Linked DNA regions of Homo sapiens: region 1 is linked to region 2. Evidence: promoter capture Hi-C in human tissues and cell types (Jung and others, 2019). All regions are on one chromosome and are shown on one strand. Each heading gives the region's core, a stretch centred on a gene start or on the middle of the fragment in contact. The rest is flanking DNA. Distances are from core to core; before and after follow the strand shown. Region 1 has its middle 23 kb from the start of ZNF701. Region 2 holds the start of ZNF845 (zinc finger protein 845).

The links. The method cuts DNA at HindIII sites, captures the fragments that hold promoters and counts their contacts. A contact is called where the count stands out against the background at its distance.
Region 1: a contact is called between a fragment that was not itself captured here and the fragment with the promoter of ZNF845 in region 2, in 6 of the 25 tissues and cell types used here (adrenal gland, liver, ovary and 3 more).

The regions. Positions count from the first base shown.
Region 1 is chr19:52,591,590-52,594,500 of GRCh38, reverse strand. It overlaps a transcript of ZNF701 not described here. Among named protein-coding and RNA genes, the nearest start is that of ZNF701, 23 kb to the right of the region's middle. The HindIII fragment of the contact is 6,608 bases long and covers 1-2,911 here.
Region 2 is chr19:53,332,499-53,335,198 of GRCh38, reverse strand. It overlaps ZNF845 (zinc finger protein 845), which reads right to left and starts at 1,450. Exons shown (of 4, transcript NM_138374.3): 1 at 1,407-1,450. RefSeq lists enhancers at 962-1,051, 1,322-1,371, 1,470-2,334 and a silencer at 1,442-1,661. The HindIII fragment of the contact is 26,552 bases long and covers 1-2,700 here.

The sequences.
Region 1 (2,911 bases), core at 1-2,500, 740 kb after region 2:
AACAAAAGGCCAGGTGCGGTGGCTCATGCCTATAATCCCAACACCTGGATGGAGGCTGAGGCAGGCGGATTGCTTGAGACCAGGAGTTCAAGACCAGCCTGGCCAACATGGTCATATCCCATCTCTAATAAAAATACAAAATTAGTCCCCTCTCCCTCTCCCTCTCCCCATGGTCTCCCTCTCCCTCTCTTTCCAGGGTCTCCCTCTGATGCCGAGCCGAAGCTGGACGGTACTGCTGCCATCTTGGCTCACTGCAACCTCCCTGCCTGATTCTCCTGCCTCAGCCTGCTGAGTGCCTGTGATTGCAGGCGCGCGCCGCCACGCCTGACTGGTTTTCGTATTTTTTTGGTGGAGACGGGGATTCGCTGTGTTGGCCGGGCTGGTCTCCAGCTCCTAACCGGGAGTGATCCGCCAGCCTCGGCCTCCCAAGGTGCCGGGATTGCAGACGGAGTCTCGTTCACTCAGTGCTCAATGGTGCCCAGGCTGGAGTGCAGTGGCGTGATCTCGGCTCGCTACAACCTCCACCTCCCAGCCGCCTGCCTTGGCCTCCCAAAGTGCCGAGATTGCAGCCTCTGCCCGGCCACCACCCCATCTGGGAAGTGAGGAGCGTCTCTGCCTGGCCGCCCATCGTCTGGGATGTGAGGAGCCCCTCTGCCTGGCTGTCCAGTCTGGAAAGTGAGGAGCGTCTCTGCCCGGCCGCCCATCGTCTGAGATGTGGGGAGCACCTCTGCCCTGCCACCCCGTCTGGGATGTGAGGAGCGTCTCTGCCCGGCCGCCCCGTCTGAGAAGTGAGGAGACCCTCTGCCTGGCAGCCACCCCGTCTGATAAGTGAGAAGCCCCTCCGCCCGGCAGCCGCCCCGTCTGAGAAGTGAGAAGCCCCTCCGCCCAGCAGCCACCCCGTCTGGGAAGTGAGGAGCGTCTCCTCCCGGCAGCCACCTCGTCCCGGAGGGAGGTGGGGGGGTCAGCCCCCCGCCCGGCCAGCCACCCCATCTGGCAGGTGAGGGGCGCCTCTACCCAGCCGCCCCTACTGGGAAGTGAGGAGCCCCTCTGCCCGGCCAGCCGCTCCCTCCGGGAGGGAGGTGGGGGGGTCAGCCCCCCGCCAGGCCAGCCGCCCCATCCGGGAGGTGAGGGGCGCCTCTGCCCGGCCGCGCCTACTGGGAAGTGAGGAGCCCCTCTGCCCAGCCACCACCCTGTCTGGGAGGTGTACCCAACAGCTCATTGAGAACGGGCCATGATGACAATGGCGGTTTTGTAGAATAGAAAGGGGGGAAAGGTGGGGAAAAGATTGAGAAATCGGATGGTTGTGGTGTCTGTGTAGAAAGAGGTAGACATGGGAGACTTTTCATTTTGTTCTGTACTAAGAAAAATTCTTCTGCCTTGGGATCCTGTTTATCGGTGACCTTACCCCCAACCCTGTGCTCTCTGAAACATGTGCTGTATCCACTCAGGGTTGAATGGATTAAGGGTGGTGCAAGATGTGCTTTGTTAAACAGATGCTTGAAGGCAGCATGCTCCTTAAGAGTCATCACCACTCCCTAATCTCAGGTACCCAGGGACACAAACACTGCGGAAGGCCGCAGGGTCCTCTGCCTAGGAAAACCAGAGACCTTTGTTCACTTGTTTATCTGCTGACCTTCCCTCCACTATTGTCCTGTGACCCTGCCAAATCCCCCTCTGTGAGAAACACCCAAGAATGATCAATAAAAAAAATAAAAATAAAATAAAAATAAAAAAAATACAAAATTAGCCAGGTATGGTGACATGCATCTGTAATTTCAGTTAGGTTGGGAGGCTCAGGTATGTGAATTGCTTGAGCCCAGAAGGTGGAGGTTGCAATGAGCTGAGATCACGACACTGCACTCCAACCTGTTCAACACTCTGTCTCATAAAAACAAAATGAAACAAAAAACACAAAACCACAAGCGCAGCTGGAAACACTTGTCAGTCAGTGTGATGCTTTCTATCTCATATCCTGGGCCATGGTGACAATTCCGCTCAGGGCCTCCAGGGGCATCTCTGCCTAGAGCAGGATGATGTTCAATCTTATTAGTCAAAGTGTTCTTCATGAATTTTCTGGTTTTATGTAAAACCACTCCATAAGGGAGTCTCTAAGAAGCTGTCCATGACAAATATGAGGGTCATCACTGTAGAAAACAATGACATGTACATGAAAAGCATGTATGGGGCAACATCACAAAAGAGAATACAAAACCAGGAAGAGCCAAGATAGACAAGGGCAGATTCCTCATGTCTGGAGGGATATTTTCCTCACCCACAAACTCCAGGTTCCTGTAGTTCTCCAACATCACTTCCCTGTATAAAGCCCTCTGTGCAGGGTTCAGGCATTTCCACTCCTCCAAAGAGAAATCTATAGCCACATCCCTGAAAGTCTAGTGTCCCTAAAATGAAAGACAGATTTCAACAAAACATTAGGGAGGAGTGAGTCATCACCTTCACATGAAATGAGAAAAGAGAAAATAAGTATCGATTTGATCCAAGACGGTGTTCTGACAAAGCCGCATTAAGGTATTTTTGAACAGTTTTTTCTGTATAGTTGCATTTTATTGCACTTTTCCTTGATAGATTTTAAAATCCCCTAAGTCACTGTGGAAGTCTCAGTTTTATGGACAATATAAAAAATATATGGCCAGGTGCAGTGCCTCAGGCCTGGAATCCCAGTACTTTGGGAGGCCAAGGCAGGTGGATCACCTGACTTGAGGAGTTTGAGACCATCCAGGGTAACATGGTGAAACCCCATCTCTACTAAAAGTACAAAACTTAGCTGGGCGTGGTGGCACCTGCCTGTAATCCCAGCTACTTGAAGGCTGAGGCAGGAGAATTGCTTGAACACAGGTGTGGTGGTGCCCACCTCTAATCCCAGGTACTTGGGAGGCTGAGGCAGGAGAATTGC
Region 2 (2,700 bases), core at 201-2,700:
TTCCTACCTCACCATGGGAAGAGGGAAGAGAGGCTCTCACAATTGAATTAAGTCACTACCCTCTGGCTGAATAGGGATTCCAAGTGGAAGCTGACCTCTAATGCCAAGATTTACAGAATGTATGTGTCTTATAGATAGGAATTTTAAAATTCTCAATATCATCTGTATAATTTAAACAAGTTCTAAGTTATTAGATTATATAAACAGAAGTCAACATATCACAACTAATCATATCCAATGAACTCACCCACTCATCTGAACCCAAAGTCCCCCACCCCTTTTAATCTTTTGAGACAGGCTCTGCTCTGTTGACCAGGCTGGAGTGCAGTGGCATGATCTCTGCTCACTGCAGCCTGGACCTCCTGGGCTCAAGTGATCCTCCTGCCTCAGCCTCCAGAGCAGCTGGGATTACAGGTGTGCACCATCACGCCCAGTTAAATTTTTTTTTTTTTTGACAGAGATGGGGGGGGGGGTCTCACTATTTTGCCCAGGCCGGTCTTGAACTCCTGGACTCAAGCAATCCCTCTGCCCCAGTCTCCTAAAGTGCTAGGATTACAGGCGTGAGCCACTGCGCCCAGCCCCCCTTTCTTCATTACTGTGCTTCCCTCCCTAATTCTGTACATATCTCTCATTCTCCCCTTCTCTCTCTAGCTCTTGTTTTCTTTTTCCCTGGGATCTGCTCCTCCTGCTGTTTTTTGTTTTGTTTTGTTTTTTTCATTTTTGCTCTCTCTTGGCAAATCCCTCACTCATCCTCTACTTTGCCATCTGTTATGGTCTTTCTCATTCTTCTTTTCTCTGTCTCAGGTTTTCTACTGCTCTCTCTCTCAGTCTCCTGATCCCTTTGGCCAACACAATCACAGGAGGGCTTTGGAGTAAGACGCCTGCATCCCGGAGGAGCGCATTTTCCAGGGGCTGGTGCAGGGCAGGCAAGAACACCCGGTGTCATAGGACAGCCCCGGGCACCTCCCCAACGCGGGCTCAGGGTAAGCGGTGACTGCGGTGGGGAGACCTGGGGAGCATAAGGGCCTGGAACGAGGAGGGAGGTGGGGGGCGACGGCGCCTTAAGACAAGACTGGGAGGCGCCAAGGGCGGGAATCCGCCTCGCGGTAAGGACTTTAAAAAGTGCGGGTCGGGAGGAGTCAGAAAAAGGTTTTGAGCAGGGAAACTACGCGATGGGAAGTGTATACATTGCCCTATAGCAGAAAGATTCGGGAAGGGACCATCCTCAGGGCGACTTTAAACCCAAAAGGAAGCGACCCCTGGACTCTGACGAGGACGTCTAAATTTGCTCTAGGTGAAGGAACACGGGTGAGAATTTCCAGGTCTATGGGGACCCCACGTCCCAGGTACAGAAGCGCCGGGGACTTGGGAAGCGCAGACTTAACACAACACAGAGCAAAACTCACCGCTGCGGTGGGACCATCACTCCATGCGATCCGCTTCCGGGTTTGCGCGAATCTGCGCGCGCAGGACAGAAGCCAGGCCTGGGCGGGACCCGCGGGGAGGTAGGCGGGGCCTGAGCGAGGTAGGGGCGGGGCGCGAAGCGGAGAGACCTTCCCCTTTAGAATTGGCAGAAGGCGGGGCCGGGGTGGGACCCGTGCGTCTCTCAACCTCGCTCCCAGCGCCTCTTGTTTTCGAGCTTTGGAGGCGAGACCGGACAGGAAGGCTGAGGCATGATTCAAAAGCCCTGGAATTGTCTGAAACGGGGATGCAAACTAGAATGTGAAATGCAAAGCCCTGCCTGGGTGGAACATACGATTTCATGCTGACGGCCCACAGAACAGAATAGAAATCCTCTCCCTTTCTATTCTCCATTCACTGGGAAAGGAGAGTCCACCCTGTCCTCAGCTTCAGAGATTTCCCTAGGGCCTCCCCCTGGGATGCGGGACGGAGTGCTCAGGCCAGGGAGGAGTGAGGTCACCACCTACTGCTTAAACACAGCAGAGATGCGGGCGCGGGGCGAAAGCCTGAGGTCCCAGCTACTCAGGAAGCAGTGGCAGGAGGATCGCTGAGCCGGGGGGGGGGTCCAAGTTAGCCTGGGCGACAAAGTAACACCTCCTCCGGCAGCGCTCCCTTCCTCGTCTCTCTCTCTCTCCTTTTTTAAAATTTCTTTAAATAAAATTTTTGATTTTGTGAGTTAGGGATCCAACATTATTCATTTTCACGTGGATATCCAGTTAGTTGTCCCAGCACATTTGTGGAAGAGATCTATTACTTTCATTTTTATATTTAGATTTTTCTTTTCTTTTCTTTTCTTTTTTGAGACAGAGTATTTCTCTGTCACCCAGGCTGGAGTGCAGTGGCGAGATCTCGGCTCACTGCAACCTTCACCTCCCGGGTTAAAGTAGTTCTCTTGCCTCAGCCTGCCAACTAGCTGGGATTACAGACGCGCGCCACCAAGCCTGGCTAATAGTTTTGTATTTTTAGTAGAGACTGGGTTTCACAACGTTGGCCAGGCTGGATTCGAACTCCTGACGTCAAGTGATCCACCTGCTTCGGACTCCCAAAGTGTTGGGATTACAGGCGTTAGCCACCGCGTCTGGCCAGGAAAACTCTTAGAAGTTGCGCCTGCATACCACTGGACTCAGCTTGCATGACCACATTCCTTTCAAGGCTCAGAATTATTTAAAGATCCATACATTTACATTGGAATTATTTGATGTTTGAAATATTTAATTTCCTACCGAGATACGGGTACTG